Regions from separate parts of the Homo sapiens genome. Here all the other regions are linked to region 1. The links are contacts of gene promoters, found by promoter capture Hi-C in blood cells and fetal thymus (Javierre and others, 2016). All regions are on one chromosome and are shown on one strand. Each heading gives the region's core, a stretch centred on a gene start or on the middle of the fragment in contact. The rest is flanking DNA. Distances are from core to core; before and after follow the strand shown.

Region 1 (6,063 bases), core at 1,726-4,225:
GGGTTCTTGGTTACAGGCAACAGAGTCTACTCTAGCTGGTTTAAACCAGGAATTTCTTCAGATATACAGATACTGCCTTGAGTCATTGGAAGGACTGAAGAAATGGATTCTAGACTGAACTCTGAAAGTCACCATAGAATTGAACCATCATGGGGAGCTACTACCTCATCCACAACCAGGAAGTTGCTGAATTAAGAGGCCACATTCTCCAACAGGAAGTTAGTGCCACAGTCCTCAGCTCTTGAGCCATGCCATATTGGCCACAACCAGTCAACAACTCAGTCAGAAGGCCACCCCCACAACAGACCATGCCATATCTGCTGAGACCCTGGCCAGCAAGAGATTCCCAGTACTCTCCTCTCTCTTCTCACTTAATTCATTCCCAAAGTCTCAGGATCCTCTCTCCACGTGACTTCATTCTGAATCAAGTATAAATAATAAAACTTAAATCCCATCTGAAACCTCAGCTTCAAGAGACTCTGTTGTGTTGAATAATAGAGATTTCCAGTCTCTACAGTAGAGGCAGGCAAGACAGAAAGATGTTGAAATAGAGGTTGAGTACGCCAAACCATTGGATTAGCCACAGTTGCTCTGGAAAGTTGGGGTATTCGGTGTATTGTTGGCCAGCCTTTCCCTCCCTCATCTTCAGGCATCCAGTGCACATATATTATCTCATTTTTTCCTCAGCTCTACCTTTCAACAAAGTATTATTATACCCACTTTATAGATAAGGAAACTGAGGCTTATAAAGTTTAAATAATGTGCAAGAAGGTAACAGACTCAAGGTTTGAACCAAGATCCACTTTGCTATTCTTACATGGTAGAATTCATATATGTGCTTTGCTGAAACTGATCACCCAACAATAGCAGCCTCTCTCTATTCTCAATTCCCTTTATTCTGGCTGTGATTCACTGGCTTTCCAAATGGCTGAATAGGCCTGGGACTCTTCCACCTCCAAACCTTTGCTCCAGCAATTTTCTTAATTACTTGAGTTCCTTTATCCTGTGGGCCACCGAGAAGCCATTTGTGCCAGGCTCTCTGGGTGCAGAAAGGAGGAAGGATATATCCATCAGCTTGGATCCGCAGTTCATCAAATAATCACTCCATGAGAGATCGTTGTCCTTTCCCCCACATCTGACCATGCAGATCTCAGCCATCCCTTAAGGCCTAGATCCAAAACTACCTCTCCCCAAGGACTTCACCAGTCTCCCTGGCAAAGGCCGACCTTCACTGGGATTCCCCTGCATTGTGTCTGTATCTCCCTTCAAACATTTCCCAGATGCAACTTACATAATTGCCCCTCCTATAGTATAACTTCCTTAAAGACAAGAACCATGACATTGATCTCTGTGCCCCTTAAATCTCCTGGCACAGTGCATGTGTGTGGTAAGGATTCAGTAGATGAATAATAAATAAATGAATGAATAAATTTCCCTACTGAGGTGCTCTCTTCTTTAACATATTGGAGAATCTGTATCTGGGTAATTACAAATCAATTGCTCCAGACTCCTAGTGCTTTTAATTAGCAAGATTTTTCTTTATCTCAGCAGTCCCCTTCTTGGCACTAGAGACCAGTTTCATGGAAGATAATTTTTCCACAGACAGGCAGGGGTAGGAGGTGGTTTGGGGATGATTCAAGCGATTACATTTATTGTGCACTTTGTATTATTATTGCATTATAATATATAATGAAATACTTATACCACTCACCATAATGTAGAATCAGTGAGAGCCCTGAGCTTGTTTTCTTGCAACTAGACTGTCCCATCTAGGGGTGATGGGAGACAGTGACAGATCATCAGGCATTAGATTCTCATATGGAGCATGCAACCTAGATCCCTCGCATACACAGTTCACAATAGTTCACAATAGAATAGCATTCTCAATTCAATCCTATGAGAATCTAATGCCACTGCTGATCTGACAGAAGGCAGAGCTCAGGTGGTAATGTGATTGATAGGGAGCGGCTGTAAATACAGATGAAGCTTCTTCTCTTGCTCACCCACTGCTCAACTCCTACTGTAGCATGGACTGGTACCAGTCCGTGGCCTGGAGATCGGGGACCCCTGCCTTATCTTTTTTTCCCATATTTAGTGAGACTTCATCAGTTGTTAAGGCCCAGGTATTTATCTTCCCTTAAAATACATATATTGAAACCTAATCCTTAATGTGATAGCATAGGAGGTGGAGATGTTGGAATGTGATTAGGTCATGAGGGTGGAGCCCTTATGAATGGGATTAGTGCCCTTGTAAGAAGCTGAAGAAACCACAGTTTCCCTTCCACCATGTAAGGACTCAGCTAGAAGGTGCCATCTATGAACCAGGAAGCAGACCCTCACCAGAAAACAAATCTGCCTTGATCTTGGCCTTCCCAGCCTACAGAAATAAATATGTTGTTTGTAAGTTACCCAACTAATGGTATTTTGTTATAGAAGCCCACATGGACTATCAGTTAATGTACATAGAATAATTGTTACCTATTTATTGGTTTTGTGGCTTCTAATATTTTTTTAAATGAATTTTAAAAAAGACAGAGAATAATGTCTATCTTTGGAGTTCAAATGAGTTTTTTTTCTTTGGAACAACTACGATAGGACACTTTATACAGTAGTGCAGGCATTTACCATAAGTAACAATTCATCAGACCAAAAAAGGTGGAATAAATCATGAAAGTAAAAGTATCAAGGAGTCTCCGTACTCTACATTTAATCCATTCAATTTCCTGCTAAAGTAGAATTTCTTCCATTTGTGTCAATCCTTTGGGATCAGCCTACAGCAACAGTCTCCTCAGTTTCTTCTAGAAACTTCCCAGTTTAGAACCCCAAAAGAGTGGTCAGCAGTCACCAAGGCAGGTTCTCTCCTGCGTGTAGTTAATGAGACTGGTAGGCCAGCAGCTTCCTCCTGGTTGCCATGGAAATGACCAGGCTGCTGGCCCTCCGAAGACGGAAAAGAACAGCAAGTGCAAGACCACGCATTCCACCCTGGCTTGCAGATTAAACCAGCTGTCAAGCCAGGGTGAAGGATCCGTGGCCAGGCAGAGGTCTGTGGAGTGGAGAGGCGAGGCCTCACGGTGGAACTCTCAGATGTAAGTAATTTCTGTGTTCTTCTTTTTTAAAAAGCATGTCTAGTCTGACAGTTTTTCAGAGCTTCAGAATTTCTGCTGCATGGCAGGAACTGTGACGGTTGGAAGAACCATTGTCAGGGTCACCTTCTTGTTGCATTTGCATTTCCTGAACATAATGTACATGTATGAGTGGCTTTCACTATGAAACACTTTTTTAGGCTTCCAGGCATATGAATTCCTCTTTACTGAGATTCTGCCTTTAAAATGAAAGATTTTCAGTGCATTAAGCAAAGAATGACATGGTCTTCTCATTTAAACCCTAAAAAGATAAACTCACTTAAAGCTAATATAACAGATAGCTCCTTGAAATCTTGTCTCTATTTTAAAACATCTGGCTAGACTTTTCCATTAGTCTTCAATGCTAAATAACAATTAAGGAAAAGAGATATGATATCTCTTTTCCTTATTGTGATCACAAACAAAGAAAAGTGAGAACTCCCAAAACACCGGCTGATACTGTTTCTTTGCTCTGTTTTATCTTTTAATAATATTATATTTACTGCCTATTTACACACCAGGCTTTATAGAGTTTGCTGATTAGAAAACAAAGAAAAGAAAGTAAGCTAAGATGAGCATTAACATTTGGATTGGATAGTTCGTGTTTTTAAAAAATTGGTCTTTTATTCAAAAGTGAAAAAGCATGATAAATAATGTAGCAAAAGGCAAGATGAAGAGGGGAATGTTTTAATTCAAAATGAGTAGAACATATACAGTCTTGCATTTATTTCTTTGTTTAATAAGCATATTTTTGGAAAGCTTTTAGCAAAAAGTATGTTGGTGTATACTGAGGACAGGAAATGTTTCAAAAACATTGTGCATAATATTTATAAAAAACCCACCCTTAAAAAATACCAAAAAAAAGACTTCATTTGTTTGAAAATTTTTTACCGAAAAGAGCCATCCTTGAGAAGTTTTTTGCTTTTTTTTAGTCTAAATAATGCAATATGTTTGGAAGGAAAAAAAAAGACTTTTCATTACTTTTTTTTCTGACAGAAATTGGGCATTTTCTGAAAATAACAGTTTCAATAAAGTATTTATGGAAATGAGTGCTTTTCAAGAGCTGACTTGGATTTCTCATCTTTCTTTTCCACACTAATATTTTTCACTGCTTAAAGCTGCCACATTATCAGCTTTTAAAATTCAGTGCCCAGTGGCTTGTGTCTGTGTCTGTGGGAGCTAATAGGTCAATAGGCCCCAGTGGGAAGAACAGGCAGGCCTCACAGTTCTGTGGGCGTGGGACCAAGGGGCAGCTGTGCAAAGCTGTGGATGTGAACCCCAGTGATGCAATTAACTGAGTGTCTACCAAGTCACTCAAGGGGAAAGCCTGAAGGATTTGCACTCATTGCCTAATTCACTCTCTCAAGGACTGTGTCAAGTAGAAAAGTACGGTAGCCACATATTTTAGTTAGGACTTCCCAGTGGCTCACTCTCTGAGAATTCTTTGTCCCACATTCCATACCTATGTTAGCAGAAGCAGCACTCTGCTCATATTGTCCTCTATTCTGATTATGAACTTAAGAACAGAAATTTCTTTCTTATGGTTCTGGAGACTGGGAATTCCAAGGTCAAGGGGCCTGCATCTGGCAAGGGCATTCTTGCTGTTTCATTCCATGGTGGAAGGTGAAAGGGCAAGAGAACATGTGCACACACATAAGAGAGACAGAGAGAAAGGGGGTCAAATTCATCCTTTTATTTGAAACCTATTCCCATGGTGACCAACCCACTCCTCAATAACAGCATTAATCCATTCATGAGGGCACCGCCCTCTTAAAGGTCACCCCTTAAAGCTCCCACTTCTCAACACTGTTGCACTGGGGATTAAGTTTCCAACACGTGAACTTTAGGAAACACATTCAAATCATAGCATTTAGCATGAGGGTTCTATACACATATAGGTTAAAGGCTACAGCATCTAGTAATAGAATACAATGCATGGAATCTCACTTGAATAGGCCCAAGACCCTGGGGTAGGAAATAGCGCTGTAATTTCCACCATGACTCTTCAGAGTATAGTTGGCTGTCTGGGTTCAAATTTTAGCCATTATTAACTAGTTCTGTGACCTTGGACAAGTTATTTAACCTCCCTGAGTACCCATGTATCATTTCCTGATATGAAAATGGGACCATATGCAGTGGCTCATGCTTGTAACCCCAGCACTTTGAGAGGCTGTGGTGGGTGGATCACTTGAGGTCAGGAGTTCGAGACCAGCCTGGCCAAAATGGCGAAACCCAGTCTGTACTAAAAATACAAAAATTAGCTGGGCGTGGTGGTGCAACACCTATAATGCCAACTACTCGGGAGGTTGAGGCAGGAGAATTACTTGAATCCGGGATGCAGAGGTTGCAGTGAGCCGAGATAGTGCCACTGCACTCCAGCCTGGGTGACAGACTGAGACTCGGTCTAAAAAAAAAAGGGGAGGGGGGGCCATAATATCTACCTGTAGGATTACAGAAAGGATTAAATAACATAAAACACGTGAAACACTTAACAGTACCTGGCACAAAAGAAACACTCATTAGATCTTACTATTAGTGAATAAAAATATGGATAGTTCCTGATTTCATTCAATTTTCAGTATACAACATACATGTATCACATTTTATATATTATAGTATGTTGCCTCTTTATCAATGACAATTTGCTGTATTTAGCTAGCTTAGCCTTGGGAACACAGGGCTGAGGAACAGTGAATTACTGGTACAGTAACATTTCTCATAGGAGTCTGAACTTTCTTGGGAATCAGGAGCTGTGTATTTGGCATGTTAAGTTGGAGATGTCTACTAGACATTCAGAAAGAGCTATCAGATACAATGTGGGACATGTGAGCATGATGCAGTCAGGAGCTAGAGACGTATCTCAGTTCACCATCAGCATCTAGGTGGTATTTAACTTCACAGGACAGCATGCAGGCACCAAGAGAGTGGACGCACATACAGA
Region 2 (5,068 bases), core at 701-3,200, 450 kb before region 1:
TGGTTCTCCTCTATGGCTCCATGTCTTCAAAGGCCACGTGGGTGAGGGAGGGAGAGACAGGTTGGCTGTGCTGAGGAGTCTAGATTTTCTTTGAACAGCCGTGAGGAGAAATTTCTGGAGGGGCAGGAGTAAAATGGGGACAGACAAAGGAGCCTTGGATTTGTCTGGTGGCAGAAAGCTATGAGGGGGTAGGGTGGGCACATGGATTTCAGATATATTTCCAGACGTAAAAACAAACTGGAGACTTCCTGATACATTTGATGCATAAAAGCTGAGGTCAATGTCCATTTTGGGCTTAAGCAGCTGGTGCCCCGATTGGAGCTCAGCTGGGGAACTCACGAGTCCCATTTGAGCTGCATTAGGTTGGAGATGCTGGAGAGAGGCTGAAGTAGGAATGTCAGGGAGACAGCCAGATGAATGAGCCCAGAGGTCACACCAAGAAGAGATGTGGGCTAGAGACAGAAATTATTTTCAAACCTTTTAATAGAAAATTCGAAACCTGGCCAGGCATGGTGGCTCGCGCCTGTAATCCCAGCTCTTTGGGAGGCTGAGGAAGGTGAATCACCTGAGGTCAGGAGTTCGAGACCAGCCTGGCCAACATGGCGAAACCCCATCTCCAATAAAAATACAAAAATTAGCCAGGCGTAGTGGCACACACCTGTAATTCCAGCTACTCGGGAGGCTGAGGGAGGAAAATCGCTTGAACCCGGGAGGCGGAGGTGGCAGTGAGGCAAGATCAAGCCACTGCACTCCAGCCTGGGCCACAGCAACAGAGCAAAACCCTGTCTCAAAAAAAAACAAAAAAACAAAAAAACAAACAAACAAAAAAAAAAACGGAAGAAGAAAGAAAGAAAAGAAAATTTGAAACCTACATGCAAGTAGAAAAGTAGAAGACTATAATAAACCACCACCCATCACCCAACTGGTACCAAGAGAGATATAAATGTGCGAGTCATGGGCCTATAGCCCGTGTTTAATGCCAGGGTTTGGCTGAAATCCCCCAAAGGAACAGTGCCAGGGAAGGAGAGAAAAGGCCTTGGGCATCACAATTAGCTACATAGAAACCTGACAGAGCAGGAGGGTCCCAAGCAGAGACAGCCTGACAGGGCGGGAAACCGGAGGGGTATCCCGGAAGGCCAGGGAAGAGTTCATGAGAAAGGAAGGAGGTGACCATGGTGTTATTGGAACCTAGGCAGTCAATTTAGAGGACAGAAAAGGTTTCAATGGATTTAGGTTTAGAAGCCATGGAGCTGGGGCGCTGGGGGACAGAATCCAGATTTCAGGGTGCTCGGGCCTGAACCGGAAGGAGGGGAGGTGCAGCGGGTGATGGGAGGCACATCTGTAGGGAGGGCTGGCACTGAGGGGGCAGACTTGGGGTCAGGGAGGGCTGTCAGGGCACTCGGGGACTGGTGGGGGCCTCCACTTGAACTGATAGTCTCCAGAAGGGTCAGATGACAGCCACGGTGGGATCTTGGGTCTTTTGGGGAAGCTACTTTATTTAGACGCCCGCCAGCAGAGAGCTGCAGGAGGACAGGGAATCAAAAGACGCCGGGAGTCTCCCCCTGAGTTTAGGGCCCAGACGGTCTGTAATCCGGGCGCGGATGGGGCTTTCTCCTGTTACAGAATCGACGGCAGCAGCAGCCTAGTTGCGTCTCAGCAGCCGGCCGTGGCGTTTGCATCTTCTCTCCCGAGGCCCCGAAGGCTCTTAAGTCACTTGCAGGGCGCCCAGGGATGGGATCAGGGGCGGCATCTCGCGGGGCCTCCCGGTTCCCAAGCGCGCCCCCTCCCCGCGGACCCCTCACCTGACACCAGCAGGCAGCCACCCAGCCAGCTCCCAAGGCTCCACGCCATGGACGGACGCTGGGGGTTCCGCGGCTTCCTCCAAGCACACGACCCCCGCCCGCGCCCGGGAGAGCTTGTCCGCGGCGGCTTCCGGGAACCAGCGGAGATGGGCGGGGCGGGGTGGGGAGGGGCCGGGCGACCGGGCTCCCACCCCGCTGCAGGCCCCGCCCACCAGCCCGGGTCCACCCGCGAGGCGCGGGGCACAGGCTTGGCAGATGCACACGAGGAAGAGGAAGGGATCCTCGCAAGCTTTGAAAGGCGCCGTCAAGTCAAATAAATAAATGCCCTACAACACCAACCCAGGACTGAGATCTGCATGCTGGAATGACGGTGGTGGTGGTGGCTTTCAGTATTCCCCAGGTTTTGTCCGGAGCACCGGCACGCCCTCTCTTGAAGTCCGCTCTCCGCACAGGTGAGTTAAAAGCACTTCAGCAGCAAATCCAGTTTGAGGGTCTTCTTTACCCTTCTCCCCAGGGATAAACAACACAAAACCAAGTCATCTTTACGCAAATAACTAGTTTCTTTCAGAGACTACTAAGAAAGCGTTAATTTCCTCTTTTTAACTTGATTAGTGGTTAGACGGGAAGATCCGGAGCTGTCCAGTGTCTTGGGTAATGCACGGCATCGCCTGATGTCTGACGCTAGAACACCACGTAAAGTCAAGCAGAGGGAAGTGAATGCGCCCTAGGCCCCTGCAGGCCACCAAGAAGAGCTAGAGGGAGTTGGTGCAATCCTAGAGATGCCGGCAGGTGCACCAATCTGTGGCACACGTACGCTCTCCAATGGAAGACAACTCAAGACCACACCAAGTTTGTATTAAAAAAGTACTGTTGTGTTACTTTTTACCAACCTCCAATCATTATACAAAATGTTAAAAAATACACAAACACACACACACACTCACAGCCATAGAGGTTATCGCAAAAGATCAACCCAGAATCTTTCAGAATATGACAGATGCACTGAGAAGGCAGATAAATTGATTCAATATACAAAAGGCCTCTTTCCTATGGAATTTCATTAGATTAAATAAGGTGTTCCCTCCTCACAGCCTCATCCTTATGAGCAATCATATAAATAATCTATTTAAAGTCCTTGAACTATAACTTGTATAATTTTTAGTTTTCCCCCTTTGAAGGGGCCTAAGAGAAAGGTTTGAGAAACCAGCTCTTGAGGGGGGCAGGGGTGAGGGGTAAGAGGTCCTGTGCCTTTCATTCATCCTGGGAGCTTCTCAGGATTGCAGCATTTCCACCTGAGTGTTCATTCTTGTACATTTTCTCATCTTTCTCCTGGGTTCCTAGGATCTTGGAGATTACCTAGTCCAATCCTTTTACTTCAGAAACAAAAAACCTGAGGCTCAGAAAGGCTAAGTCAAATGCCTAGGGTCACACAGGGAAACTGTGGGAGTTGGATCCCTGAGTCCCAGTCCTTAAACTGGTTGCTACATGACATTCTAGAACCTCTCCCCACCAACTCCCTTTTTAAAGACAGGGTCTGGTTCTGTCACCCAGGCTGAAGTGCAGTGACATGATCTTGGCTCACTGCAACCTCCGCTTCCTGGGCTCAAGCCATTCTCCCACCTCAGCCTCCCAAGTAGCTGGGACAACAGGCACATGCCACTACGCCCAGTTAATTTTTCTAATTTTGTTTTGTAGAGACAGATTTGCCATGTTGCCCAGGCTGGTCTCGAATTACTGGCCTCAAGCGATACGCCTGTTTAGGCATCCCAAAGTGCTGGGGTTACCGGCAGGAGCAATTGCTCCGGGCCAGACTTCCCTTCCCCCGCCCACACCCCCCCAACCCGGCCTAGATCCACAGGCACTGTAATCACAGCTGACACACTCGACTCGGAATCAGCATAGAGAGCACTCTGAAAATTGTCAAATAGGGTCCCTGAAACTTGTATACCATACTTCTCCTGAAGATCTTGAAGCATCTTTGTGTTTGCTTTTTTTTTTTTTAACTTAAAATATGGCATTCAGGTTTTATCCCTCTCCCCGACGCCATGTTTCCTTTCTGTATTAGTCACACACGTGATCCTAAAGTCTGTCTTCCCCACTTTAACTGGGGAGGGCTGGACAAGGTGGAATTCCAATTGCAGGAGACAGGATGTGACATGGGTGAGGTGCCCAAGGCTCACCGACTGAAACTTCGATGGCTCTTCCCTGTTTCCTTGTGCAGGGCCCCCCTTCTCTCCACTGCTCACCTGGCTCTCCTCCTCCCTTCCTGCCTGCTTTGCAGCTCTTGCTACTATTTTCCTTTTCTTTCCCTGCTCCCACCCTGGCCCAATTTATTTCACAGAAATATCACAGGGCCAGCCAGGCACAGCGGCTCACCCCTGTAATCCCAGCACTTTACGAGGCTGAGGAGGGCAGATCACTTGAGGTCAGGAGTTTGAGACCAGCCTGGCCAACATGGTAAAATCCTGTCTCTACTAAAAATACAAAAATTTGCTAGGCATGGTGGCAGGCGCCTGTAATCCCAGCTACTTGCGAGGGAGGCTGAGGCAGGAGAATCACTTGAACCTGGGAGGCGGATGTTGCAGTGAGCCAAGATCACACCATTGCGCTCCAGCTTGGGCGACAGAACGAGACTCTGTCTCAAAAAAAAAAAAAAAAAAGAACGAAAGAAGAGAAATATCATAGGGTCCTGGACCACCTCTGAAACTGTGGGGAACCCTGCTCCCTGGTAGACATGATGCAGAAACATCCTAAGTGCATTAGTGTAAAGGAAAGGTGCACATGTGCTTCCTTCAAAGTGCACCACTTTGAATATGTAAACAATGCACTGAATGATACTATGGTCCCCATACTGGGAATGTGCATAGGTGATGTCACCTGGAAGAAAGGAACACCACAGTTTCCTCCTCCTTCCCTTGGAGAACACTTGCAGACGATAAGGCAGCAAGTTAGGATGCAGAGACAAAGAACCCTGTAGGTGCTTGTCTGTCCAAGTTCATTCAATAGTTTTGGAGTCATCTCATTATATAACCATCCCCAAGGTCAACATCTGACTCAGAAGTGTCACTTTGATCAGATGGAGCATCTTCGGACCACAGGCCCTCTGAAGAGGGGCTGGGAAAGGTTGGCTGTGTCCCTTCCCCGCTGGCCAGCAAATGGTTTGATTGCACATTATCAGGATCCTCTGGGTCAACCATCTCTTCCAGATGAGACGATAGCATCAGAGGGGCTTCTAAGTCGTCACTGTCCTCGTCATCAAGAACTCT
Region 3 (6,063 bases), core at 1,503-4,002, 380 kb before region 1:
CCAACTGCCAAGCATTTCTTTCTCAACTTCTGATTAGCTGCAACTTAGTAGTCATTCAACCTTGAATAAAACAATTTCACCTGAATATAAAAACACGTTTAAAATTAAGAAATTGCTTGCTTACACAATATATTATTCTTTCTTTTTCTGGCATCTTCCTTGCGGTTTAGATGTCATATCGTAACTTCTCCTTCCCCAAAGGGTCAATCCAACTCTAGTGTCTTGTTCCATGTGGGTCTTTTGTTCCTTCCACCCATAATCTAAAGGTCCCAAGGCACTTCCCCTATCCTCCCTCAGCCAAGCTTCATCCTTGGGCTCTGCCCTAGAGTAACTCAGCTGACATCTTAAATATGTCTGATCATGCTAGTTTGTATAATTCCTGTTTTCTGCATGCAGACTATGTGTTTTTCCTAACACACCAGCAAATATTTAGTAACTTTAAATTTATGTGCCAGTATTTTGCAAAGTGCAGTGGGGGGGTACAAAGAATTGAAAACCTGATCTCATCAACTGGAGTTGACTACACATATGTAGGTACGGGAAAGAGTAAGATATAGAGGGTACCACCTGTAGCTGGAGTACCTCCAGCACCGGGCGATGCTTCCCACTTCTCTCCTCTGTAATGCACAGGAAACATTATATTTCCAAATATGATGCATTCCCATGGGTAGCAGTTGCTCTGCCTCTTTCCCAACCAAGAAAGCCTATGGAATTTAGGGATTGTTGGGATGTGATCAAAGGGACAACCTTAAATATCCACTGTTTCTAAGAAGGATCCTTGTTTAGACACTTAGGAACAAATTAACTTATCCCCCTTATCCTGCCCAGCATCCATCAGTGGGTTAGGGAGGTATGGCAGAGGATGGCTGGCAAAGATAGGGCCATTTTCTGCATACAGATCACACTGCAGAGAAATAAACTGAGTTCCCTAGCGGCCTTTGCCTCTGCACTGCTGATTGCAGTTGGTGCCACACTGTGCCAAGTGATAAGCTCTTGAAAAGGAGCAGTTGCGTCGTGTCCTCAGAGGAGGACTGTGTGGAATGTTTGTGTCTGCATATTCAAGCTTGTTGCCAGATCTGCTGTTTCTGGGCCTCTCTCATTCTCAACTTCCTTGTGTTGAAAAATGAAGATATGAATTCCTCTCTCACAAGGGCTGTTGTGGAAATTCAATAAAAGTAATTTTGTGAGAGCTTTTAGCACGGTGCTGGCATTCAAGTGGTTGGTTGCTCAATAAATATTTGCTGGGTGAAAAAAATCTGATATTTACTTCAGAGTTCACTATGTCATTTTTCTTAATGAAAGTATATCCAAGTAGATATCTTGCTAAAATAAGAACAGCTGGAAACTATCTTAAGTGGAATTGCCTGAAGAAGAGGTGTGTCCATTTTCATTGTTTTGTAGAGTTTAGTTCATCCAGCATATCCCTCGCTTCCTTTCCTTCTTTATAGGGTTCCACAAGGAGCTTTGCTGTGGGCGAACTGTTAGCTGGAGCTGTGATAATTAGGCCAAGGTCATGCATCTGTCCCTTGTGGGCCAGTTAGCTCAGCTTGGCTCCATGTCCATACGCATTGATCTTAACCCAGCGGCAGACTCACAAGTGTGTGACCGCATCCCAGAGGACTGCGGGGGAAGGGTTTCTGTGGATCAGGGCAAATCGCTCCTGCCGGAGAAGCACCTTCACGGTCAGCTCTCTTATGGTTATTATGACCTGAAGGTGGCGCTGTTTCTCAAGGAAAACTGGCGTAGGGTCGCCGACAGTCTATTTTAAAGTGAGTGTGAAATGATAGAATGTCAGAGTTGGAGAGAATCTGCGAGGTAATCTTTGGATCGATTTCCTCACTTTCCAGCCAAGGAAACAGATCCAGAGGGATAAAACTCTTGTCAGAAGTCACACCACAGATTCCTGACAGAGGCATGGCTAGACACGGGCCTCCCAGGTCATAAACTTTTACAATTTTCACTGCACTAAGGGTTTCCTGATCCTAAATGGTATCAAGCAATTAATAATGCTTAAAAGAAAACTGAATGAATCATTGATAACTAACCTGGTGATATTGTCAATGAATTAAGTTACTGAATTTCAAATGTCTGTTATTTCTAATCACAGGTCAGATTCAAGTTGTTTTGGCTTTTACTACAAAAAGCATCTTTACATATATCTGCAATTTAATGGATAATTTATTTTCCCTTTCCATACATCTGAAAGAAGAAACATAATTGGTATGAACAGCACTTAATTCCAGACTGACTTCTTTTGAACTGTAGGTAAGCATTATTTGTTTGAATGATTACAATTGAGACAAAATGTGGGTTTTTAACAGCTGCTCACAGATTGCAGGCTGATAATGACAGTAACTCTATGGCAGCTATTTGTAACCCCTACCCTAGTTCATAGAAAGAGAAGCATATTAGACAGTGGGCATGGCAAGTACCTCTCCGCAGGTGTGTACGGAATCAGAATTCAACTTTTAGAAGATTTCTGCTCTGAAAACAAATTATTTTTTAAAGTAAGCTTTTACTTATTTTGGGGGGTATGGTGAGTACTTGGGAACGTGAGAGAGTGTTTCCTACTTTTCTCATGGTGAGAGTTGACAAGATGTGAGGTTTGGAGCCTGTGTTGTAGAATTCAAGGTCATCAAAAAAGGCAGGTCTTGTGGCTCTGCTTGAGGCATGAGTTAAAACTTTTCTTATCATCCTGATCAAATACAGTTGTAGGAGTTGTCGCAGGGAGATTAGCACCCTTTCTCCAGTTCATCTTGGACAGGTGGTTTTTATTATTCTTGTATTTGGTTTTTATCCTCTTTCTTTCAGAGCTAAGGGAGACTCATCAGAATGGATGGTTTCTGAAATAGGAATCTATTCAAGATTTAGGAATATAGAATTTTTATTTTTTAAAACACATTACATTTCATTACACTGTCCAATGATATAACAGAACCACAGACTTTTCTGGTTGTGTCCTGCTCTTTATTTTTACCTGGATCCAAGCTTTCTTCAATGATTCTCTCTCTCTCTCTTTTTCTTTTTCTTTCTTTTTTTTTTTTTCTTTTTTGAGTTGGAGTCTTGCTCTGTCACCCAGGCTGGAGTACAGTGGTGTGATCTTGGCTCACTGCAACCTCCGCCTCCTGGGTTCAAGTGATTCTCGTGCCTCAGCCTCCTGAGTAGCTAGGATTACAGGTGTATGCTACAATGCCTGATAAACTTTTGTATTTTTTGGTAGAGACTGGATTTCACCATGTTGCCCAGGCTGGTCTCAAACTTCTGGCTTCAAACTATCTGCCTGCCTCAGCCTCCCAAAGTGCTGGGATTACAGGCGTGAGCACCGTGCCCTGCCTCTCTTCAAGGACTCTCTTTGCTACATCGGCATCACCTGGGAACGTGGTAGGGCTACAGAATCTTGGGCCCCACCTTGGACCTACCTAATCGTCATCTTATTCATTGGTGTTCCCTTCGCCAGGTGAGTTTTGCACTGACTAAAACACACAGATCTATCAGGTGAGTCGAAATGGCAATACTCATTTACCTTAGTTCTGCCTTTATTTTACTTTCAGTGTTTTATCCTTGTCCATGGAGTCACTCTCATTCATGCAGTTCCACAAATATTTTTTAAGGCCCACTCTGTGGCAGACATAATACAAAGGGCTGAGAATAAAGATGAAAAAAATCATTTACTCAAAGTATGTAGTATGTCATCCAATGATAAGTTATGGAGGAAAAGGCAGGCTAAGGGGGCCGGGAGTGTGGGAAAAGGGTGCAGTGGTATACAGAGTGATCAGCGAAGCCTTCTCCCAGGAAGGGGCCTCTGAGCAGAGAAGGGGAGGACAGAAGGAAAAGTCACGTGGAGGGCTCAGGGAACTACCTCCTCTGCCCTCCAAAGCCACTAGCGAATCGCTGTGTGCGAGGGTTGCCACATTTAGCAAAAATACAAGATACCTAGTTGCATTTGAATTTCAGATCAACCTTGAATATGTGTTGGGTATAACATACTAACTTTTTTTCTTTTTCTTTTTCCTTTTTTTTTTTGTTTTGAGACAGAATCTCACTCTGTTGCCCAGGCTGGAGTGCCGTGGTGCGATCTCGGCTCACTGCATCCTCCGCCTCCCTGGTTCAAGAGATTCTCTTGCCTCAGCCTCCTGAGTAGCTGGGATTACAGGCACCTGCCACCATACCCAGCTAATTTTTGTATTTTTAGTAGAGACAGGGTTTCGCCATGTTGGCCAGGCTGGTCTTGAACTCCTGACCTCAGGTGATCCGGCCGCCTCGGCCTCCCAAAATGCTGGGATTACAGGCGTGAGCACCGTGCCTGGCCTAACTTTTAATATTAAAATACACATATATAAAATTTAGTACATATACTAGTACATAGTACATGTACTAAATTATATTGTAATGTTTTTAGTATGTCCCATACAATATTTACGACATATTTATTTATACTAAACAAATTCATTGTTTATCAGAAATTAAAATTTAACTGGGCATCCCATATCTGTGTGACCCTCTGTGTGACCGATGGCTTGTGGACCAGACCATGAGCTTGGGGAATGTCCTTCTCAGCAGGACCACCATTTCCCTTCTCAGTCAACCCTCACCTTGTTCCCTAGGCTCTGGGCAGGGTCACCTTGAAGGCGGCCATCTGTGGCCTTGTGTTAACTCCACAGGTGACACCTGGATTCTGTAGTCAGATAAGAATGTGCGCCTGTCTTCTATAGCCAGCTAAGCATTTCCTAAACTAAACACTCCTAAAAAGTCTTCTCTAGTGAACAAAACACATCTTAGAATCCTCCAGGAATATACTCCATTGTGAATGGATCACAGTGGGGAAAAAAAGTGAATTGTTCCTTTGTCCATCTAATGTTTGGGAGAAACTCATGATTTATTTTGCAGCCAAACGCACACGCAATCCAGTTTGCAGTTTTCCAAAGGCTATTTCTGATGTGGGATGTGTGGCTCCTCCCACCTCTTCCTGGTATAATCTATAGCGTAACATCTGTGTGTCTATGCTAAGAGTCAAGCCATTAACCTCTGAATTTATTTATTTATTCGAGATGGAGTTTTGCTCTAGTCGCCCAGGCTAGAGTGGAATGGTGCCATTTCTGGTCACTGCAACCTCCGCCTCCCGGGTTCAAATGATTTTCCTGCCTCAGCTTCCCAAGTAGCTGGGATTACAGGCATGCACCACCATGCCTGGCTAATTTTGTGTTTTTAGCAGAGATGGGGTTTCACCTTGTTGGCCAGGCTGGTCTTGAACTCCTGACCTCAAGTGATTCACCTGCCTTGGCCTCCCGAAGTGCTGGCATTACGGGTGTGAGCCACCACACCTGGCCTAACCTCCGAAATTTAAACAAGGGGAGAGTCTCCTCTCCATTTATTATTTTCGTAAACCATAACTACTTGCAGGTTTGTACCTACTGTAATAACAACAAAGCTATGTCAACTTTTAGTAATTGGCCTCTTGTAATGCCCAAGCTTGAAGGGAAGGTCCTGGAACTCAAAGCTTTTGTGTTTTCCAATCAGGGAAATGATGACTGTAAACAAACTACCAGACTTAGCCAAGGTAGCCCAATGGGCTGATTCGCCACCTGCTCTTATAATTCCAAACATCTTCCATCACAAGTTAAAAATTAGTGACGCCCAACACAGCAAACTTTAGTTATGTCTTCTTCTTCTTCTTCTTCCTCTTCCTCCTCTTCCTCTTCCTCTTCCTCTTCTCCTTCTCCTTCTCCTTCTTCTTCTTTTTGAGACAGAGTCTGGCTCTGTCACCCAGGCTGGAGTGCAATGGCATGATCTTGGCTCACTTCAATCTCAGCCTCCTGGGTTCATGCAATTCTTGTGCCTCAGCCTCCCGAGTAGCTGAGATTACAGGCACCTGCCACCACGCCCAGCTAATTTTTGTAATTTTAGTAGAGACGGAGTTTCAACATGTTGGTCAGGCTGGTCTTGAACTCCTGGCCTCAGGTGATCCACTCGCATTGGCCTCCTAAAGTGCTGGAATTACAGGCGTTGAGCCACCATGCCAGGCCTTAGTTATGTTTCATAATAACAAGAAGACAGTCTTATGGA
Region 4 (6,063 bases), core at 2,427-4,926, 340 kb before region 1:
TATCACCAAGGGTATGGCCCAAGCCATTCATGAAGGATCCACTCCCATGACCCAAATACCACCCACCAGGCCCCACCTCTAACACTGGAGATTACATTTCAACATGAGATTTGGGCAGGGACACAGATCCAAACTATATTAATTGGTTAAGTTGCCTTCAAGGAATACAGCATACATGCAAAAATGCCTAGTTTCCAAAATGATTAACTCTGAAGCCCCCCAAAACTTAGACATTTTTCTCAGGGTTTCTAAGTGTGGGATGGTATCAACAAGTTCATCTGTATTTTTATTCATCTCATTCAACTCTGGGAGGCCTTTGAGTCAGCATTTGATGATCTGTTTTTATGACTGTTCTGGTATTGTGTAGTTAAACTCTTTAAAGTCCAGGCTTCTTATATTTTGTCAATTTCTTGTTAACCTTTCCGGGGGGTGGGGGCCAGGAATTGTAGCCACATTATGAAGACCATGTTCGGCAACAGTAACACCATCTTGGTGAGTTCCACCTAATGTTAGATGGGTCTATGTGACCTTCATAGAAATGGAAGCAAATCAAAAATTTCGTGATTTTGATGAAACTATATTAGATTTAAAAAAAATCCTCAAAGTGGCAAAAGCACTTTGCAGATGTCAGGGTATTTGAAGCAATGAGAGAGTCGCCTCCATGACCACCACCACCATCATGGGAACCCTGTGAGTCGCGGCCATGTGGAAATATTGATCTTACTATACGAGCAAGGCCACTAAAGCAACCCTGGCCACTGAGTGGTGCCTTTTGGTTACTCCTGGTTCTGCCACTTTTTCACACACATGGTTTTAGCAAGTATGGCTCTTCAAAGACCTTCTTCTTGCTTTATTACATTTTCTTCTATGCTACAGGCAAAATAGGACTGGTGAGTGAATCAAAATTTACAAAAATCCAAGGCAAACGGCCACCAGAAATTTCAAATGCAGTTCGATTTGGTCAGACTTTTGGTATTTAAGTGAGTAACCAAAACAGATTTTGTTTTCTCCTGAAGCAGTGGTTCTTGCCATCATGGAGTTGTGACCCTCACTTCTTGATGTTTTGTTTCGTGACATTTCCCCCATTTCTAAAAGTGCTATAAAATATGTATTTATAAAAGGCGCGTGTATATATGTGTGTGTGTGTTTCAATGTAAGAGATATTGATTAAATTGTCTTTTGAAAATATGTTCTTGATTTTGCTATGCTGTTTAAGGAATTTGGAGGTGTTTTAAGCCAAGGTTTAAGAACAGCCTTTCCAGATGGATCAGCTGCACTACTTAGGCACTTGTGCAATAACTTTCCTCCAATTTTAGAACGTGGGAAACAACAGGAGACACTTGATGACTTTCGCTTGGCTGTGGTGGGTGAGAAACTATGCTTTGTAGGATAAGGGTTGAGCTGTATGTAACACCACCTGGACATTTAATCTTCCTGGCCACCTGGACAGAGGTGGTTGGTTGCCTCGCTTAAAAAGCCTTTCTTCACCCCTTAGAACTCCTGACTCTTGGCAGGTGTGTGACTTCCTGGAAGTAAGACTACATTTTCCAGCCTGTTTTGCTGTTAGGTGTGGTCATGTGACTAATTGTTGGCCCATTGGTCAGGTCCAACTCTTGTAAGCAAGAATTATAGCTCCTAAGGACCTTCTCTAAGAGGTTACTGGCTGAGATCCCTCATGCATTTTCCTCCTTCCTCCCACCTGCTGCTTGCAATGTGTACACATGATTGGAGCTCCATTTTGGACCATGAGGATGAAGGCTATACTCCAGAAATGGCATAATTGAAAACTGGAAATAGCATAGATCCTAGGGGATGATAGAGAAGCCATTCCCCTACTGGAATGTCTGAATTCAGAGTCCCACATGATGGAAATAAACATATCTTTTGTAAGTGATTTATTTTGGGTTTCTTACTGGGAACCAAATCTGATTTTAATTTGTAAATTCCCCTTTTTCCTTAAAAATTTATTTACCTGCTTGTAGTAACTCCTCCACACCAGAGCCATTCTTCCTACCAGGTAGTGGTTTTCTAGTACGTTCACTTAATCCAGTGTATTCAGTGGTTGTTTTGTGCTTCTGTTTTCAAGTAATATGGCTACCTTTTAGCAGAAACCTTGGCAATATTGCATCCCAAGCCAGTAGTTTAAAAACTTGTTTTCAAAAGAAATCCAGTCTCCTTCTCATTGCTTCTGAAAATTTCTGGTGTGTGTGTGAAGGTGTGGGAGTGGGGTGAGCTTGCATTCCACTGGTTAATGCCTGTCACCTCTTTCCCCACCCTAGCCCCTAGCTTTTCCCTCCATCACATCTGAGGGTTTCCTCATTGCTACACTGCCTGCCACCCTTTTCCTACTGCTCTGCCCCAACATGGACACAGTCCCTTTCCTTCATTTCTTAACCATTTCCAACATAAGGCTAATGAAGTTTTACTGTACAATGGATTTTTATTGAAGATTTGGGAATATCAGAGTGTAATTACAGCACAAATTAAAAACTTATGACAAGTTTTCTATTATCACTGTTGTAAATGTTCTTCACCTATACTCACTCAGTGTCAGCTAGGGTGTCTTGAATGCTGACATCCTAGGTGGGATCACATCCTCTGCAAGCTCACTCACTCACATGTTTGCACTCACAGTGTTGTGCTGATTCTTGGCTGAGCTCTCACCTGGGGCTGTCAGCAGCACACCTCCACGGGAACTCCTCATGTCACTTGGGCTTCCTCACAACATGGCCACCAAGTTTGAAAGGTAAACAACCTGAGAGAGAGTGAGTCAGGCAGAAACTGTATTGCTTTTGTTTACCTAGCCTCAGAAATCATGTAGCATCACTTCCACTGTGCATTCTGCTTGTCAAGGCAGTAAAAAGTCCTGCCCAAGTTCAAGGGGTTGATCCCTACTCTCCACCTATTGATGGAAAGTGACACCTTTTGGGAAGAGCTTGTAGGCATGGAGATATTGCTGTGGCCACTTTGAGAAAATGATCTCTTAAACTCATCATGGGGCATCCTTTACCAGCCATCACTGCCCTTGGCCCCAGCCTGCTCCTGGGTTCCGGGATTTTACTCTTCCTATGAAGTTCCTGTCCACCTCCAAAATTCTCAGGTTATTACTCTCAATGTAATGCCCATCTTTTGTGCCAACCCAAAGAAAACTGAAAGCGCCTACTTTTTAATTATTATTATGCAGAGCCATTTGTTTCTCTTGGTCTCACTCTTTCTATTCCCAGGTCTGCCCTTGACCTTACCTTTTCTAACTTATGTTACCTTTTTTAACAAGAGGCTCGTTAGCTAAAAGACCTATTATCTTCTAAAGCAAAATGGGCATAAACAACAAGTGGGGGCTGGGTGAAGGGGATACAAAAGTTTCATAAGTTGCTAACTTATAATAAATCCCTAAGGAGATGTTCTTTCAAAAACCTGCTTTCGAAAAAAATTATCAACAGGGGAAAGCTTCTCAGGAGGGAAATAAAAACACTTGTAGCATAAGGCTGATTTCCTAATATTAGTGAAAGACATAATGGAAGGAGTGGTCGGTAGAAAATAGTCCCCAGTTCCTGGAATCCAGGCAGATGCCATCGTCTCAATGGAGCTTGGCTCCATCATCTGTGAAATGAAGACCATGTGGTCTCAGCCACTCCCTGAGGTCCCAAACACCTGGACATTTGAGCCTTTTATTTTATACTATAAATACAAACATTCAGCAGGCATTTGCTTAGTATGGATTATATTTAAGATTTATGAATTAATTAAAATAAATTAAAATATTAATTAATATAATTACAATACATATAGATAATTAGATATAGATATACTTTTTTGCCTGAAAGTCATCACTGCAATTATGGTTGAGGCAGGGAATACTTTTCTTGGTGGGCTGGTTTTCGTGGTGATCTTTAAACCAAAGCTTTAATTTATAACAGGGTAGACTGTCTAGCAGTTTCCAAAAGCATGAGAGGTGTCCTTGGTGCTGAATTACAAGCTCGGGGTCTGATAGTCAACACCAAGGATAAACAGCTCTGCTTTTGGTGGGGTGGGGCGGAGGAGAGAGAGAGAGAGAGAAGAGAGAGGAAGGAAGGAGGAGGAGAAAGAGGGAGGAGGAGGAGAAAGAGGGAGGAGGAGGAGAAAGAGGGAGGAGGAGGAGGGAAGGGAAGCAGCAGCAGCAGTCACCACTGCCACATTCTTGAGTTGTCATTGTTTTGTCTTGTTTTTTGAAGGCAATAAGGGATGTCCTGATCAGAGAAAGCCTAGAAAGAACAAGATTCTTAAAAATCAAGCTGTGGCACTGCTGCCCAGGCCATGGGCACTCTCCAGAGTTTTTCAGGGCTTCCCTGTGTTGTCATGGGGATTAATTAGTTAATATTTATGGCGTATTTTGGAGTCACTTTAAGTTAAGCATGTGCAGGGAGCTGTGACTCAGATACGAAATTATTTTCAAAAGGGAAAGTGTGTGTTAGGGTTTGTGAGTGGTGGGGCTCTCACAGATGTCATTTCATACCTAGAAAGCACTATTTTAAACTATATGAATGACATCTTGCCAAAATATGTTCACCATTTTTTGCTAAAACATTTTAGGTTAAAACTAAATTTGCAAAGTGACATCTCAGAAGAAGAATATACTGGAAATCTAGGAAGAATGGAGTTAATAGGGTCTTTAACAGGCTTGTAACATCCTTAGACTCTTAGATTTACACTAGATGCATGCATATGTTTTATTAGCTCAAAGTAAAACTTTGTGGCCACCAGTGGTTTCTGGTCATTTATATGTAATACAAATTATGTCACCCTTGCCTTTAGTTCAATTTTGCTTTTTACTTGATTCCTTCCCAGGTGAAAAGATGATTCCTAGTTCTTGTTTTGCTCTGAAGAAGCAGGTTGGGTTGCTGGTCCAGGCTGGGCTGCCTCCCAGGTAACCACAGTGTATCTTCCAGTCGCCCACTGAAGATGCTGATGGTCTTCAAGAAACTTCTCAGATCTGAAGGAAGATGCAGGGGTTAAAAATAATATTTGTGTTGAGTATTTAAAATTACTATTATCAGCCGGGGATGGTGGCTCACACCTGTAATCCCAACATTGTAGGAGGCCAAGGTCGGTGGATCACCCGACATCAGGAGTTCAAGACCAGCCTGGCCAACATGGCAAGACCCTGTCTCTACTAAAAATACAAAAATTAGCTGGGTGTGGTGGTGCGCACCTATAATCCCAGCTCCTTGGGAGGCTGAGGCAGAAGAATTGCTTGAACCCAGGAGGCAGAAGTTGTAGTGATCATGCCACTGTACTCCAGACTGGGTGACAGAGCGAGACTCTGTCAAATAAATAAATAAATAAAATTACTGTTATCAATTAGCTGGATGTGGTGGTGCATGTCTGTAATCCCAGTTACTAAGGAGGCTGAGGCTGGAGGGTCGCTTGAATCTGGGAGGTGGAGTTTGCAGTGAGCCGAGACGGCACCAACTATACTCCAGCCCGGGTGATGGAGTAAGACTCTGTCTAAAAAATAAATAAATAAATAAAATAAAATTGCTATTATTATAGACAGGACCTTGTTTGCAAAACTACATAACATAAAGTTAATATAATTCTATAAATATAATAGACATAATGATATCATGTTGTCATATTATATTGGTTTGCATAAACTCAAATCTGCCAACCTCTTTAACTCACAAAGAGCATTCAGTAGGTGCTTTGCATGTACTCCACGCATGATAAATATTATTCAAATACTTGGATTAGCAACACGTTTTCCCTCTGGATCTCTTTTTTTGTTTCCTGTGGAATGCATGCTGGTCCCAGCGAACCCTGAAGGACTAAATGTGGCAAAGTGCATGTCTGTATTTGACATTCACATGTCAGTAACTGCCAAGTTATAAACGAGCTGCTTTTCAGAGCCTCATTTGCTAAATTGCCACATGGCATTCACAGCATATTCCTCAATAAAATACCATCACGCCCATAGTTTCCTGCGTATGTCAGAGTCTCCAGCACCTACTACCACGTCTGGCTTATGCTGTGTGCTCAGTAGTGGAAAGAATGATGGGTTTTCCTTCTTTCTACATGTTTTCTTCC
Region 5 (6,063 bases), core at 1,448-3,947, 320 kb before region 1:
TTTTTTTTGAGATGGAGTCTTACTCTATTGCCTAGGCTGGAGTGCAGTGGTACTGTCTCAGCTCACTGCAACTTCCACCTCCAAGGTTAAAACGATTCTTGTACCTCAGCCTCCCAAGTAGCTGGGGCTACAGGTGTAAGCCACCCCACCTGGCTAATTTTTGTATTTTTAGTAGAGACAGTGTTTCACCATGTTGACCAGGTGGTCTCAAACTCCTGACCTCAGGTGATCAGCACCTGGCCTACATTTTGTTTTGATGGACACTTGGGTTACTGCCACCTTTTGGCTATTGTGAATAGTGCTGCTCTGAACATGGGTGTGCAAATATCTCTTCAAATCCTTGCTTTCTATTCTTTTGGGTATTTACCCAGAAGTGGAATTGTTGAATTATATGGTATTTCCATTTTCAATTATTTGAGAAACGGCCATACTGCTTTCCCTAGCGGCTGTACCATTTTACATTCTCACCTATGGTGCCCAGCGGTTCCAGTTTCTCCCTATCCTCACCAACACTTGTCATTTTCTGGTTGTTTTGTTTTGTTTCTTATTGTAGCCCTTTTAATGAGTATGGAGGAGACGAGCTTCTGATTGGATGCTAAGGGGCTGTAGTCAAGCTTCTGATTGGATGCTAAGGGGCTGTAAAGTAGTCAAGCTTCTGATTGGATGCTAAGGGGCTGTAAAGTAGTCGTGTCCTCGCGCCCTTGTGAAATAGTTACAGAGCCTGCTACACTATTCCTTTGATACAGAGAACAGTAAGTCACAGCATATAAGCAAGGGTTAGATGGAGCATCCAGAGGACGATGGCAGGGAACAAAAGAGAAGTCCTGAGAAGGATCGTGGGACCAGACCAGGCTTTGTGGAAAGCATGGGGCTGAACTGTGCCCCAAGGGTGCAGAGAAGGTGGGGAGTGTGTTCCAGGAGAGGGGGCCACCGGAACAATGGTGTGCAGATGGAAACTGGTCCAGCTACTAAACTGAGAGGGACAAAAAGAACAATAGCGTTGACAGGGATACGTGGCAAGACAAGCCTATTTCACCTGGACTTTCCTGCTGAACTCCAGACCTTATGAAAGCTCTGATAACAGCTGGGACATCTGGTCGTGCAATCCGTGGTGAGGAAGGAGAATCCAGGCATTCTTTTAGCCCAGTAGTGAATTCGAGCGATGCCAGAGGGGAGTCATCTTGGCAGTGTGATACTCCCAGGGAGTAGGAGTAGGAGGATGTGGCGTGGCGGGGGCTGTGAGAGTGCCTGTGCAGGCTGCGAGGGGTGCCAGGGTGGCACTGTATACACACTGAAGGACAGGTCCAATAACCAATACGGGGTGTCTGTAGATTCTGAATGCATAGAAAACAACATTATGATTATTACTTTACAGACTGGAGATGGCTTTAATAATATTATATATATTTAACTGTTTCTGGACCTTATGAACATCATGTATGTTAAGGTCGATGAGGGAACCAGGTTTCTCATCAATGAAGAAGGGAGTTACACATGTGGAAGGGAAAAATCCTAGAATAAGCCCTTTGGTGTTGGACTGGAATTGGAAGTGTCAGTGTCAACTCGTATATAAATGTAGCCTAGTTCCGTTCACTGGGAGGGCCTGGGAACAGTGCCACCCGGGAGCAGACAATACATCAGTGCTCAGATCTTGGTTCCTAAAGTCCCCACTTAAAGGAACCCAAACTCCTTGGAGAAATGGTCAATTCCAAGGCTGGATGAGGAGTCAGGGAAAGTACAAGATGAAGCTAGAACGTCTTGTGCCAGGAAGTAAAGAAGGGCTCAAAGAATTATAGGCACATGTCCGGAGAACCCAGAAGCCAGAGTGAAGGAGCTCCTACCGGCCAGAACTGGGATAATTGAGGCATAAAAATGAATAACGATAGGAGCAGAGTATCACCTGATAAGTAAAATAAGTACGCTTGAGTTCCTACCGATATAAACAAACAGATGAATGTATAAGTGGAAAAAGCAGAATTCTAACTAATATGGCGGGGCACAGTGGCTCACAACTGAATCCCAACACTTTGGGAGGCTGAGGTGGGAGGGTTGCTTGAGCCTAGGAGTTTGAGACCAGGCTGGGCAACATAGTGAGACCCTATCTCTACACAAAAATTACTAATTCCAACTAATAAATATTAGGAAAGTGATGGAATTAGAAAATCATTTATTGGCAACCATCATAATCATCCAACGAAGAAACACTGGTGGATATTAAAAACAGTGAGTGAAGTCTGATGAGGAATGGGATATTTGCAAAGGCTCACGTACCTCCCCACAAGATCCTTGTATGTTACAAAGGGGGAAAAAAGTAACTTTACAGCGGAGGCACATGGACAACATCACCTTCATTATTTCGTTTACATGTAAGTCACCAGGACTGGGGTAAATTAAAATTGTGTGCCACTTGGCCAGATACAAGATGAACCCAGCATCACTTCTATGATGATGTTTCTGCCAAAGACATCCCTGACCCTCATAATAAGGCATCACCTGAAAAACCTACACTAAGGAACATCTACGGAATAATTGGCCTATTATTGTCAAAAGTGTCAAGGTCATGAGAGATAGAAACTGTTCTAGATTGAAGGAGACTAAAGAGATGGGACAACTCTGTGTGATGAGCAATCCTGGATTGGGTCCCTTGCCTATAAAAGTTTAGTGAGATTGAAACAACTAGAGAAGTGTGGATGGCATTTGAGAATGAGATGATAGTATGTACCGATGTTAATTTCTTCATTTTGGTGGTTGTATTTAGATCATGAAAGTGGGTGACTTTCACAATCATAGGAGATACACATTAAAGTATTTTAGGGTGATGGGCATCATGTCAGCAACTTATTACTCAAGTGAATTAGGAAAAACAGGTCTTTGCATTATTCTTGCAACATTTCTAAAATTTTAAAATTATTTAGAAATCAAAAGGGAGGCCGGGCACGGTGGCTTACACTTGTAATCCCAGCACTTTGGGAGGCTGAGGCGGGCGGATCATGAGGTCAAGAGATCGAGATGAGCCTGGCCAACATGGTGAAACCCCGTCTCTACTAAAAATACAAAAATTAGCTGGGCGTGGTGGGATGTGCCTGTAGTCCCAGCTACTCAGGAGGCTAAGGCAGGAGAATCTCTTGAACCCGGGAGGCAGAGGTTGCAGTGAGCCGAGATCACACCACTGCACTCCAGCCCGGGCGACAGAGTGAGACTCCATCTCAAAAATAATAATAATAATAATAATAATAATAATAATAAAATAAATAAGAAAAATAAAAAAGAAAAAGGGAAATTATTTTGTAAAAATCTACAAGTTAACATGTAACATCAGAATCTGGGCCCAATAATGAATGGGTCAAGCAAAGGCATATCCCCTGGGGAATGTGATGACCCTGAGTGCTCCAGGCTGGCACTGAAGGGCAGTCCTCCCTTGCTTTATTTCCAAGTGTCAGGCATGTTTTTATAACAGGGTAGAGTTGTCTCTTCTTTTCACATGGATGACCAGATGGTGCTCCCCGAGAGTCGAGAGCTGAGGTTATGTCCATACCTACTGGGGTAGCGGGAACAAGTTGCCTAGAAAAGCCACTGAGAGATCTCTATCTACCTGCAGACTCTGTGTATAGTGAAGACTCGGTATGTCCCCCAAAGTTGAAGAAAAGGCAATGGGTATATTCTGTGGGGTGCAATGTGTCTTACTGGGCAATAGCAACATGGATTATGAACAATAGCTCCCACCTCACCCAGGACACTCGACTCACTGCCATGGGGATTCTACATTTGTTTGGAGAAGTAGAGGTGCAGCTGGAAGAAGAGGAAGTGGGAGCATTATAAAGAGGGTTATAAAAGGTTTTTTGAGCAAGGCAGAGGAAATGAGACTTGATGGAGCAGGCACGGAAAGTCATTGCTGATTCCTGAATAGGGTTCAATATATTGACAATGGCATTGAAAGGGATTAAGAAGCCTGACCCTGAGCAGTCTGCTAGGCTAACCCTTATTTTCCAAGGGAGAGGGGGTGGGCATTGTCAAATTCTCTTGATTAAACAAGTTGATTCAGAATGAATGAATTAACGCATTTTGGTTGTTGTGAGAATTAAATGAATGAACACATGGAAAATCAGCACAGTGCTGAGAACAATACATGTTAGACACAAAAACACATGGGAAGCCCCCAAACTAGAGCTGGGCATATAAGAAGCCACTTCCCAAACGTGCCGAAAAACTCTACCCAACCCAAAACCCAAGCATCTAAAGATACGGCATTGGCCACTTTCTCCACCATCACTAGTGCTGTGGCCTCTTTATTTGCAATGGTGCTTTCTCTCCAAGGAATTCCAAGGTTCTTACAAACTTTAAATTACCCAGGGGAAATGAATCCTCACAAGCAAGAAAGCAAAATAAAGTGCCTCAACCAAAATAAACTCCCTCCACCTCTCTGTCTCCCTCTGCGCCCACCTCCTCACCTAAAATAACCCAGGTCAACTCTGCTCGCCTGCTCTGTCGTCGCCCGTGCCAGCCTTGGCTTCACTCCTGTCATCAGCTGACCCAAGATGATTGCTAATGAACCCTGTGCCCTCTCATCAGCAGGGTTTCTTTGGAGAAGTCCAGAAAGGTGCTTGAAAAAGGCCAGTGCCTCTTTGTTATTTTAATGACCGCTCTGTGACTTCAACCACTTAGAATCCAAATCCATCCTGTTTGCAGGGAACAGGATTCTCCTGTCGCAATGTCTGATCTTGATGAAGGCTTCTCGAAGCTTTGGATCTGCTAAGATCACACACAGTATTGGTGGTTATTGGTTTCTTGGGAGAAGCAGCTCCCCTGATGATAAAACTCCCACAGAGAGACCTGACTTCGCCAAGACCAAGTTCAAGACAGAGGGATGGCCGTGAGACTTGAGCTGGGATTGCAACAGCTGCTCTCGATAGTGTGTTCAAAATTCTATAACTGGAGATGGATGATACAGATATGTCCATTTCCAGGTTGCCAGCGGTTATCTGAGACACCCCAGTACCCTCTGGGTTTGCAACCCTCTGGCCAGTAAGGGGCGCTGTTGATTGAGGGACTGTGGCTGGAAGCTACGAGGGGGAAAAGAAGTGACCAGCAGATGTGGTCTGTGTTCCTGGTTCCTTAGAGACTTCCCTCTTTGGAGGACGATCTGATTAGAGCTGGAAAACTCAAACAAGCGGCTTCAACCCCAGCAGCCTCACTCTGCTATGTACTCTCGGAACAGAAACCGATCCCCACGGCAGTCTTTTCTCCGGACTGTGCAGAGGGCTCCAGGCCACCACAAGAGGCATCACTGTGATTGGTCCAGGCTGCAAACTGCTGCGTGCTTGTCCCATTTTCCTTCACTATTTCGTGTTTATTTATCTCTGACAACGATCGTGGCTGCATCTGATCCTTTCTTGCGGCCACTGTCACTACTCCCCCATACTGAAATCTACCAGGCACTTGGTTTGATAGACTACTAAAATAGTTAACGAAAGTCCTCAAATTTTGTGTGTTGGGGAGGCAGGAGACAGAAAAAATAGAGAAAGAAAATAATCTGAAGATATTGCATTCCATATTTATCCTGCGTGTCATGGGACCTATATTTGTAATTGCGTAATGTATACATATATATATATATATATAAAACATATATCCAAAAAAAAAAAAAAACCAAAAAACAAAAAAAACCTCTCCCAGGCCCCATTTTGCTGGAGTTTTAAAGACAAAGTGCCTCTGTGCTGAGACAGGAGCTGGGAGGCACTGTGCCCAAAGGCAGGAGGTTCATTCCTGTGTCGAGCTCTTCCCCTGCAAGCGAGGCCTGTGTTCGTGGGAGGGCACTTAGAGACACCCTCAAGAAAGGGCTATAGAAGTGCAAATTATTAATAGACATTATTCCAGTGATGCTCACTTAAAACCTCATTGGCAGCAGATGAAACAGTGGAGGCCTCTTGCCATTTGCTCGGATTTCTCCTGCTGTTCTCCCTCGAACGAGGACTGCAGCAAACATGAGATGTTTGAAAACTCAGCATATCTGCATTTTTTCTGGTTTTATGGGTCAAGGGAGGGAACGCTGGTTTTGAGGGAAAG

The links. The method cuts DNA at HindIII sites, captures the fragments that hold promoters and counts their contacts. A CHiCAGO score of 5 or more calls a contact.
Region 2: the fragment with the promoter of IL10RB here is called in contact with the fragment with the promoter of EPCIP in region 1 in 6 of 17 cell types (M0 macrophages, naive CD4 T cells, non-activated CD4 T cells and 3 more); the score reaches 9.5 in M0 macrophages.
Region 3: a contact is called between a fragment that was not itself captured here and the fragment with the promoter of EPCIP in region 1, in 10 of 17 cell types (total CD4 T cells, M0 macrophages, naive CD8 T cells and 7 more). The highest score is 8.8, in total CD4 T cells.
Region 4: a fragment that was not itself captured here is called in contact with the fragment with the promoter of EPCIP in region 1 in 3 of 17 cell types (M1 macrophages, M0 macrophages and M2 macrophages); the score reaches 8.3 in M1 macrophages.
Region 5: a contact is called between a fragment that was not itself captured here and the fragment with the promoter of EPCIP in region 1, in 3 of 17 cell types (total CD8 T cells, M2 macrophages and M0 macrophages). The highest score is 5.3, in total CD8 T cells.

What each region holds. Positions count from the first base shown.
Region 1 is chr21:32,810,615-32,816,677 of GRCh38, reverse strand. EPCIP (exosomal polycystin 1 interacting protein) reads left to right here and starts at 2,975. Exons shown (of 4, transcript NM_001162495.3): 1 at 2,975-3,086; 2 at 6,024-6,063. The HindIII fragment of the contact is 1,895 bases long and covers 1,989-3,883 here.
Region 2 is chr21:33,263,249-33,268,316 of GRCh38, reverse strand. IL10RB (interleukin 10 receptor subunit beta) reads right to left here and starts at 1,950. Exons shown (of 7, transcript NM_000628.5): 1 at 1,803-1,950. The coding sequence starts at 1,851. The region is part of intron 7 of IFNAR2-IL10RB (IFNAR2-IL10RB readthrough); the gene reads right to left. IFNAR2 (interferon alpha and beta receptor subunit 2) reads right to left here. Exons shown (of 9, transcript NM_001289125.3): 9 at 2,653-5,068. The coding sequence ends at 4,817. IL10RB-DT (IL10RB divergent transcript) reads left to right here and starts at 2,057. Exons shown (of 2, transcript NR_038974.1): 1 at 2,057-2,254; 2 at 2,415-2,685. RefSeq lists a silencer at 1,695-2,104 and enhancers at 2,275-2,344, 2,375-2,434. The HindIII fragment of the contact is 8,663 bases long and covers 1-2,093 here.
Region 3 is chr21:33,192,705-33,198,767 of GRCh38, reverse strand. It overlaps LOC105372787 (a long non-coding RNA gene), which reads left to right and starts at 3,251. Exons shown (of 3, transcript XR_937675.3): 1 at 3,251-3,457. The HindIII fragment of the contact is 476 bases long and covers 2,515-2,990 here.
Region 4 is chr21:33,155,468-33,161,530 of GRCh38, reverse strand. No RefSeq gene overlaps it. Among named protein-coding and RNA genes, the nearest start is that of LINC01548, 12 kb to the left of the region's middle. The HindIII fragment of the contact is 454 bases long and covers 3,450-3,903 here.
Region 5 is chr21:33,126,472-33,132,534 of GRCh38, reverse strand. No RefSeq gene overlaps it. Among named protein-coding and RNA genes, the nearest start is that of LINC01548, 41 kb to the left of the region's middle. The HindIII fragment of the contact is 4,086 bases long and covers 655-4,740 here.